Linked DNA regions of Homo sapiens: regions 1 and 2 are each linked to region 3. Evidence: promoter capture Hi-C in 16 types of primary human blood cells and fetal thymus (Javierre and others, 2016). All regions are on one chromosome and are shown on one strand. The core of a region is centred on a gene start or on the middle of the fragment in contact, and the rest is flanking DNA. Distances in the headings are between cores, read along the strand shown. Region 1 holds the start of TBC1D10B (TBC1 domain family member 10B). Region 2 holds the start of TAOK2 (TAO kinase 2). Region 3 holds the start of TUFM (Tu translation elongation factor, mitochondrial).

Region 1 (3,225 bases), core at 332-2,831, 1.5 Mb before region 3:
GGAGATCAGACACTGAGTGGGAATTGACAGGACATGGGGCTGAGTTGGGAGTGAGGGACCTTAGAGGACTCAGAAACCAAGGAGGAGCTGAGAAGTCGGGAGCTAGGTCTCACTGGAATTCCAGGATGGTGGATGCTATATGGAAATCAGAATATGGGGGTCAGAGAAAGAAGAGGGCGTTTAGAAGTTGGAAGGTTGGAGCTCATAACGTCAGGTCTTTATGCTTGTGATCTAAGGACAACCTGGAGCGCTCATGAGATTGAGGTCGGGATTCTCAGTGGAACATGAGGAGCACAGAGGGATGTGGCAGTGAGGGGAGAGGGGTTGACGGGACTGGGGCCTTGGATCCCCAAAAGAATAGTAACACACATATGGGGAGTTCATGGTATTAGGGATTCATGGATTTGGGGTTTGAGATCCCCACTAGAAGAAATGGAGGGGGTACTCAGAGGGATAAGGTCTGAGGAACTGGAGCCTGGGTTCTGGGGAGGAGCTCAGATAGATGGGAACTGAGGAGAGGGACTTGGAGGTTGGGATTCCCGCAGGAAATGGGTGAAGCAGAGATATGGGTTGCTTATAGGATCTGGGGGCTCTGGCTATTGCCACCTGGGCCTGGAGTGTTGGGGTTAGTTGGGGGCCGAGATCGGAGAATTATAGAGTAAAGGATGAGAGTACTGGGTCAGGGCACTGGATCTGTGGTGGGGCTCAGGGTCCCACAGACCACCAGAGTGTGGGGCTCAGGAGCTGAACGAAGAATAGGGGACCGGAAAGGACTCGAGAGGGGGCAGCGCGGCACTCATTGGTTGAGGGCTGCACTAATGCCCCCGCCCCTTCTCCGTGCTGTCCCCAGCTGTCACCCTCCCATAAGGCTTGTCTCCGGTTGTCACCGACTATCCCTGGGCTGGCACCGCCTGCTGGCAGCATCTTTGCCCTTTGGATGCTCCCATTGGCTGAGACAGCTATCTATTTTCCTGTCCTGTGGCCAAAGTGGGAGAACACGATCATTGGCTGACGGGGCGAATTAATCTCTAGCTTGCCCCGCCTCCTCCCAGCTGTCATTCCTTACTGACCATTTTGGGAGACCTAAAGAATTCTTCAGCTCTTCCTATTGACTGCGGATGCTGTCTGTCACCGCCTAAATAGACATCACTGCCTGTCAATTTGACCTCCACCTGCTCCCCTTTTCATTGGCTCCCTTTTTACCATTCCTATTGGTTAAGAAGCCTCCAGGCCCCACCTCTTACTCGCACAGCCCTGCCTCCTCCTCCGCCCTTCCGCGGTCATTCACCCTTCAGTCATATTCATTGGCCAGGAGGTTCAGACCCCTGCGTTTCTATTGGTTATTTCTTTCGTCCCATCGCCCCCTGCCTTTCCTCGTCCTCTGATTGGTCTTACAGCCCTAGCTTTCTCCGTTTCCTCTTTCCAGATGACCCACCCCTTTTTCGCCTCCAGCCCCGCCCACGATTCCAACGATTGGCAGAAGCCCAGTTCTCTCTCTCCCACTATTCGTCCAAATCCTCTGACTAGGCGGGAGAAAAAAGGAGCGCGATGAGCCAGTCCGCGCGCAGGCGTGGAACGCCGAGACGCTGGCGCGGAGCCGGCTCTGCGGCGTGTGCGCAGGCGCGAGGTCGGCGGCTCGCCCCCAAGCAGGAGGGAGGGGGCGGTGGCGAGAGCGCGCGAGGGGGTGAGAGGGCTCGAGAGAGACCCCGGCGCGCGGCGCCCCCCGACCCCTGCCCCGCCTCTGCGCGCCCAGCGGCCGCTCCGCCCCCGGCGCGCGCCGAGCCGCGCCCTTCGCCCTCTCCCCTTTCTCGGCTGGCCTCGCCGGGAGGCCCGAGGGGCGGCGCCTTCTGCGGCCTCCCCGGCGGGGGGATGTGAGGGGCGGCCCGCGGCCATGGAGACGGGCACGGCGCCCCTGGTGGCCCCGCCGCGCCGTCATGGCGCCCCCGCGGCCCCCTCGCCGCCGCCCCGGGGTTCCCGGGCCGGGCCCGTCGTGGTGGTGGCTCCGGGACCTCCAGTGACTACGGCCACTTCGGCCCCCGTCACCCTGGTGGCCCCCGGGGAGGCGCGGCCCGCCTGGGTCCCGGGGTCGGCCGAGACCTCTGCTCCGGCCCCGGCCCCAGCCCCGGCCCCAGCCCCGGCTGTCACGGGCAGCACGGTGGTGGTGCTGACCCTGGAGGCCTCGCCCGAAGCCCCAAAGCCGCAGCTCCCCTCCGGCCCGGAATCCCCAGAGCCCGCGGCAGTGGCTGGAGTTGAGACATCGAGGGCTCTGGCCGCAGGGGCAGACTCGCCGAAGACAGAGGAGGCTCGACCCTCACCCGCCCCAGGACCAGGGACCCCCACCGGGACCCCTACCAGGACCCCTTCCAGAACGGCTCCTGGTGCCCTGACCGCCAAACCCCCGCTTGCCCCCAAGCCGGGAACCACAGTGGCCTCAGGAGTGACTGCACGGAGTGCATCAGGACAAGTGACAGGTGGGCATGGAGCTGCCGCAGCAACATCAGCATCAGCAGGACAGGCTCCTGAGGACCCCTCAGGCCCTGGCACAGGCCCCTCTGGGACTTGTGAGGCTCCGGTAGCTGTCGTGACCGTGACCCCAGCTCCGGAGCCTGCTGAAAACTCTCAAGACCTGGGCTCCACGTCCAGCCTGGGACCTGGCATCTCTGGGCCTCGAGGGCAGGCCCCGGACACGCTGAGTTACTTGGACTCCGTGAGCCTCATGTCTGGGACCTTGGAGTCCTTGGCGGATGATGTGAGCTCCATGGGCTCAGATTCAGAGATAAACGGGCTGGCCCTGCGCAAGACGGACAAGTATGGCTTCCTTGGGGGCAGCCAGTACTCGGGCAGCCTGTGAGTACCAGTGGGCACCCAGCGGGACCGCCTCGGGGAAGCAAAGGTTGGGGGAGGGCGAAACGAAAACGATACACTTTGCCCAGACTCTGGCAGCCCAGCCTCCTCTGAGGATCCACGGGGTGATCAGCGCGAGCTGCCGTGTCTTGAGCATCCTGAGGTGCCTGTGACATTGGCATGTTAGTGGAGTTTCAGACCAGGGGTCAAGAGGTCTGGGTTTAAGCCTTGCCTTTGATGGGTTGTGTGCCCTTGAGCTAGTGGCTTCCCCATTTCCGTGCCTCAGTTTTTTCCTCTATAAAGTGGATTGAATGAGATGATACCTGAGGTCATCCCTGCTCTTTGATGGGGAACTCCAGCTACAGGCCGGATATTCTGGAG
Region 2 (3,023 bases), core at 338-2,837, 1.1 Mb before region 3:
AGGAAAAGAGATGGCAAGAACCAGGCATGCATCAGGGAAAGATGTGATTGAGGACTTGAGTTCAAATTCTGGTTCTGCCACTGTGTGACCTTGGGCAACCTCTCTCGGCCTCAACGTTCTCAACTGTAAAATGGGAAGATGCCAATAAAAGAGGCCCCCACAGGGTGAATGCGGGGATGTCACATGAGAGAATGGCTGTCAAAGCACTTTGTAAAAGACAGATCGTTTGACAAATGGATGAGATTATTGACACCATCACAGCAAGAGGTTGGAAGGTAACTGCAGCTGGGGGAAAACATTGCCAGGCACCTCCAAGCACACACACACACGCATACACACAAACACATATACACACACTTCCTTGCAAGGACAAGAAATCCAACCAGACCAGGCCTGAAAAGCAGATAAGCAGACCCACCATGGGAATCAGAGGCATGGGAATCAAAACCACAGAATAGCCAGGAGAACGGGACATATCAGGGAGGAGAGGTGGCTGTGAGGGGCAAAGTGAAGGAGAGAAGACTGAAGTGCAAATCCATCTGATTAGCTGAAGCACCCTAGGGTGTGAACGCCGGTGACATCAGAGACCCTGTCACCTGAGGTCCCCCACCAACCAGACACAATGAAGGGAAGAGGAAGGGGAAGGGGGTGGCAACAGAAGGCAAGGCTAGCCAGAGGCTGACCACTCGCTCAGCTGGGCTTCCCCATCCTGAGAGGGCCTACCCAAGTCCAGCTTCTCAGAAAGGCGCACCCTTTCTTCTCAGAACTAGACACAGGGACCCGCGCCCCTGCACCCCGTGTCTCACCTGGTAGGGGTCACTATGGTGCCCCAGCGCCTCCGCTTCCGCCTGGGGTCCTCCAGCGGCTCTGCCAAGCAGGGAGAGGGGCAAGGAGACCTTTCCCCTTGCCACCTCTTCCTCGGCTTTCGCCCTTCCTGAGGGGCGGGCCCGGGAAGCCTCCCCTGGAGGGGAGGGGGTGACAACCTAATCTGACCTCGCGGTCCAGTCCTCCCCCTCGTCGAGGGCGACAGCTGCCGAATTCCGGATTTCTGATTGTGGGGTCTGAACCCCGAATATCTGAACGGGATGGAGACTGAATCCGATATTTGAACGCCCGGGGAATGAACCCCGGATACTGGTGCACGCAGGGGCCTGAACCTGATATTTGAAATTCTATGAAACAGAGACCCAGGTTTAGAGAGGTTGGGACCCGAGTCCCGGATATCTGGACTATGAGGACTGTTACCCGGGTATCTGAGAAAGGAGGAGGGGCAAAGCCTGGAAATTTGGGACCCAGGGGCCTGAGCTGTAGGTCTTCGGCCACCGACTGGGGGCCCACCCCGAGGACGTCCGGCCGCACGGCCCCTCTCACGCCGGGGTCCGAGGGTGACAGCCCCCACTCCCGCCCCGGCCTCCTCCCTCTCCCTTCTCTCTTCCGAGAATAGCTGAACGATTGTAGCTAAGGTGCTGCTGACGGTCCCCGCGCCCTCTCTGCCTCTCCTCTTCTCCGTCTCAGCCTCTCTCCGCACCACAGCCCCGGTCTCGTCCCGGTCTCCCTCTCCCTCTTCCTCCCAATTCCAAGATGGAGACCGGGCGGGAGCGCGCAGGCGCGGTAGGGACGCCGGGCTAAAGGGGGCGGGGGCGCAGAGGACTCAGCCCCGCCCTCTCTCCTCACTGCCGCGGCCTGGGAGACCGGCAGCCGCCAAGCCCGAGTGCGCGCCCGCCCCGCCACGCGGACCCCAGGCCGGAGGAGGCGGGGAGAAGAGCTAGACTTGCAAGGGGAGGAGCCCGGCACTCTGTCCCACGACTGGCGGTGGACAGAGCTGCAGCGCATGCGCTCGCCCCGCCTTCGCTCTGAGCCCGAGCTTGTTGCTAGGGGAAGCTTTGAGGGGGCGCGGGTGGACGGACAGCAGCGGCGATCTGCGACTGCGCGCAGGGTGGAAGTTGGGAGGGGCAAAGGAAGCTGCTGCTGGGCGCGGAAAAGGCGGGAAAATAGACTGCTCCGAGGTTAGCAACCATCTAACCTGGAAAAGGGCCTCCAAGTGCGAGGAATCTTTGCGCGTCGACGCTGGGAAAACTCAATCGGTCAAATCTCTTACGGAAATTGAGGCGCTGCAGGTTGCAAGACTTGCCAAGGTCACAGTGCATTTATGTCACAGCATTTCCATGACCTGACACCCCACCCGCCCAACTAACTGTAATTATCCATTTTATTTCGTAGAAGAAAACAAGACAGGTGTTTACCAAAGCCAAGTCAACCATGGGGAGAGCTCAAGTAACCTATGCCCTATGCCAACCTGTGTCCAAACTAGAGAGTCAACAGGAAAGAGTCCCCCAAAACTTCTAAGCCTGCCTACCCTAAAATCCCCACCTCAATCCAACCCCCAATAAACACCATACACGCCACTGGGCAAAAAAGCTTTTTATTTTCCCCCACATTCCAGCTCTTCACTTTTTCTAAAACCTTTTCCAACTCAGAGCCAAGGCCCAAGAAGTTGATTCACACCTGGGGAGAAAGAAAATAAAACAACAAAACAGGTCGAAGAGCTGCTAGAGGAAGCTCTGAGATGTGTGCAGAAATTGAGGAAGGAGCAGAGGGAGTGACAGCTAGAGACCAATACGGGCATTTAATCCCAACTAAGGTAGCCTCAGGACCCCAGGGTCTGTCAGGGGCCAGGAAGCCCTCCTTTCCCAGTCCAAGGTTGAGAGGGTCCTGTCATTTCCTGTCCCAAGTAGGTGGTTGGGGCATTTAGGCCCAGCCATCAGCAAAATAAGCACAGTTGATCTTGAGCTTCCACTTCCTCTGGCCTGATCAGTTCCCTGGGCCTCAACTATTTCCACTTTTCCCATAGTAACTTCCTAGGGCACTGCAGCCAGCTGAAGCTGAGACCAGTTCAAGAGCTGGATGCATAACACATGGCTCTCAAATTTCATGCACCCCCCTCTGACAAGTGAAGATTTTTTGCAGAAATATTTTTTCCTTTAGTGAGCTGATGTGTGAACTGGTTAACCAACATGACCCCC
Region 3 (3,133 bases), core at 614-3,113:
CCGCCCGGCCTCCCAAAGTGCTAGGATTACAGGTGTGAGCCACCACGCCTGGCCAAAATATTTTTATAGAGATGGGGTCTTTCTTGGCTGAGCGTGGTAGCTCACGCCTGTAGTCCCAGCACTTTGGGAGGCCACAATGGGCGGATCACTTGAGGTCTGGAGTTCGAGAGCCGTCTGGCCAACGAGGTGAAACCCCATCTGTACTAAAAATACTAAAATTAGCCAGGCGTGGTGGCACATGCCTGTAGTCCCAGCTACTCAGGAGGCTGAGGTGGGAGAATTGCTTCAACCCAGGAGGTGGAGGTTGCAGTGAGCCGAGATCGCCCCATTGCACTCCAGCCTGGGCGACAGAGTGAGACTCTGTCTCCAAAAAAAAAAAAAAAAAAAAAAAAAAGATGGGGTCTTTCTCTGTCACTCACGGTGGGGTGCAGTGTCATGATCATACCTCACCACAGCCTTGAACTCCTGAGCTCAGGCGATCCTCCTGCCTCGGCCTCCTGAGTAGGAGGGGCTATAGCTGCATGCTACTGTGCCTGGCTAATTTTAAATTTTTTTTTGTAGAGATAGGGTCTCCTAATCTGCCCAGGCTGGTCTTGAACTCCTGGCTTCAAACCGTCCTCCCACCTCAGCCTCCCAAACTGCTGGGACTATAGGCTGGCACTATAGCCACCGTGCCCAGCCTCTTCTCAGTTTTAGAAGAGTGTTTGTTATATAGCTTCCCAGTCTGTGCATAGACCCCACGGAATCATAACCTCCAGGGGAGGAATTAGGGAATCTATTTGAAACAAACACTGTCCACTGAGTCTCAGGATCTGATGAGTTCCGAAACATTAGCCAGGGTTAAGCAGCCATAATTAACACTTTGGAGTGCCCTGTGGAAGCTGCCATGAGATGATGGATGTGAAAGTTAAGGGACATTGACTACCCTTGCACCCATTCATTCAACATTCACTGCATGCTCCACCCTGTTAGGTGCTGGGGACACCGACAGATTAAAGGAGACTCAGGCTCCCCTTAAAGGCTCCCCTAGCTGGCTCCTCATCCTTGGCTCCTCATCTGCAAAATTAGATGGGTGGGGCGATGCCCAACGGAACTGCTCCTTAGGCTGCTGAGGGACTACAGGGGTGGGCAGCGAAGCTGTCTGTCTTGTGGGCTCTGGCCCTGTGAGGTCTAGCAGTACAGGGTCCCCGCAAGCTGCCTGACCTCACAGGGCCCAACACTGACTCCTACCCAGTTCATCTCCTCTCAGGGCTAGATGTCAGGCTCTCCCTATGAAGTGGATACTACTATTCCCATTTTACAGATTAGAAAACAAAGTCTCAGCGAAGAGGGAGGTCACACTTCACCCCATCCCCGAAAGGCGTCCAGGACCTGGTCCCCTACCTCCAGCTGCGGCAGAGGCGGCCAGATATCTCGCAAGACCCGCGTAGCGAGTCGGACTCCGGGGGACTCGGGGTCTCTCTCTGCCGGGCCCAGGAGGAGGTTCCTGAGCAGTCGGAGCCGCAGCTGCCTCCCGGAGCCCGAGCCCCTCCCTCCGGGTCCGGCCTAGCCCGCCTGACTCCCACTCTGATCACCTCCACAGCCCGCCGACCTGAGAACTACTACGCCCATGAGCCTTCGCGGCGCCGGTGATTTAGGGGACGCTCCTCAGTGCCCCCTGCGACCGCCAGAGAGAACTACGTTGCCCCTCAGCCCGAGAGGCGCGAGTGGTGGAAAACCTCTCCATCATACTCCGCCCTCGAGACACCAGCCCCCTCCATGACGTCTTCAGCCGCGCGCCCGACGTCGGCTGAGACGGCCATAGACACTGGCGGCTAGAGGGGCCCGGACTTGCCCTCCCAGCTCTAACTTCCGCCGGAAGTGCCTTCCAGCCGCAGGCGCCCTTCTTCTTCTGTGCGCTCGGGCTCCTGGTCCCGGCTCCCCGGTTACCGGGGCGCGAGTATGACCACAATGGCGGCCGCCACCCTGCTGCGCGCGACGCCCCACTTCAGCGGTGAGTGGTCAGGGAGGGCGATGGCGGCCCAGGAACACTTTGGGGGAGTGGTAGGTGGCTGGGTTCGGTCTGACCCCTTCCCTGCCTGACTCCAAGCTTCGGTCCCGGCAGGTCTCGCCGCCGGCCGGACCTTCCTGCTGCAGGGTCTGTTGCGGCTGCTGAAAGCCCCGGCATTGCCTCTCTTGTGCCGCGGCCTGGCCGTGGAGGCCAAGAAGACTTACGTGCGCGACAAGCCACATGTGAATGTGGGTACCATCGGCCATGTGGACCACGGGAAGACCACGCTGACTGCAGCCATCACGAAGAGTGAGTGGGGTTGGGGCGTCCAGCAGCGCCCTATCTACTGATGGGACCTGGAGCCAGGGAGGCAAGGCCAGCAGAGTGTCTGCTGGAGGAGTTTACTGTGGCCCCAAGAGCCCGAATTTGTGCGACAGGTGGATTGGGAGATGCAAGAGACAAATTTCTCCTGAACAGGAAGAACTTTGTGATCCACCAATGGCTTGGGGATCACAAAGTCGTGGGGAATGCTCTGCAAGCAGAGGCTGTACCCTAAAGAAGTCACAGGGCAGACCCTTAAGGCCCTCTAACATTTCTTTCTGACCCACAGTTCTCTCTGCTGGAAGAGTTAGAGATTGGAGGAGGTTATGTATTTAGGTGGGAGGGTTCAGGGGCGTGGTCTAAGCTCTGCCTCTAGCACTGGAACTTTAGCTGAGAGGTGTGTTCTTTTCCTCCTTTAGTTCTAGCTGAGGGAGGTGGGGCTAAGTTCAAGAAGTACGAGGAGATTGACAATGCCCCGGAGGAGCGAGCTCGGGGTATCACCATCAATGCGGCTCATGTGGAGTATAGCACTGCCGCCCGCCACTACGCCCACACAGACTGCCCGGGTCATGCAGATTATGTTAAGGTGAGGGTTGCTGGGACACTGGAGACAGGGCCAGAAGCTGCCTCTTGTCAGGATAAATGTTAGGCTTGTGGGGAGGAGATTAAGATATTCAGTGTTTGGGTATGAGATGGCAGGTTTGTGGTCTTGGCCACGCAGAATGGGTGGTGAGGAGATGGTAGAGAAAGGTGGGCCTGAGTTTCTAACTGCTACACTTGGCTATATGGATGTGAACTGAAGAGCTCGTTGAACTTGGCTGT

What was found. Contacts are between HindIII fragments. The CHiCAGO score rates a contact against its expected background, and 5 or more counts as called.
Region 1: the fragment with the promoter of TBC1D10B here is called in contact with the fragment with the promoter of TUFM in region 3 in 1 of 17 cell types (fetal thymus); the score reaches 6.6 in fetal thymus.
Region 2: a contact is called between the fragment with the promoter of TAOK2 here and the fragment with the promoter of TUFM in region 3, in 1 of 17 cell types (non-activated CD4 T cells). The highest score is 5.1, in non-activated CD4 T cells.

Annotation. Positions count from the first base shown.
Region 1 is chr16:30,368,850-30,372,074 of GRCh38, reverse strand. It overlaps TBC1D10B (TBC1 domain family member 10B), which reads left to right and starts at 1,581. Exons shown (of 9, transcript NM_015527.4): 1 at 1,581-2,847. The coding sequence starts at 1,892. It also overlaps a transcript of MYL11 not described here. RefSeq lists silencers at 1,696-1,985, 2,076-2,155. The HindIII fragment of the contact is 4,560 bases long and covers 1-3,225 here.
Region 2 is chr16:29,972,432-29,975,454 of GRCh38, reverse strand. TAOK2 (TAO kinase 2) reads right to left here and starts at 1,587. Exons shown (of 16, transcript NM_016151.4): 1 at 807-1,587. It overlaps TMEM219 (transmembrane protein 219), which reads right to left. Exons shown (of 6, transcript NM_001083613.2): 6 at 2,407-2,505. It overlaps LOC124903762, which reads right to left and starts at 1,833. Exons shown (of 2, transcript XM_047435036.1): 1 at 1,675-1,833; 2 at 820-1,458. The coding sequence starts at 1,833. The coding sequence ends at 820. RefSeq lists enhancers at 497-626, 333-1,104 and a silencer at 1,528-1,897. The HindIII fragment of the contact is 1,984 bases long and covers 1-1,883 here.
Region 3 is chr16:28,845,078-28,848,210 of GRCh38, reverse strand. It overlaps TUFM (Tu translation elongation factor, mitochondrial), which reads left to right and starts at 1,863. Exons shown (of 10, transcript NM_003321.5): 1 at 1,863-1,993; 2 at 2,105-2,299; 3 at 2,731-2,897. The coding sequence starts at 1,942. It also overlaps a transcript of SH2B1 not described here. RefSeq lists an enhancer at 1,512-2,001. The HindIII fragment of the contact is 15,792 bases long and covers 1-2,091 here.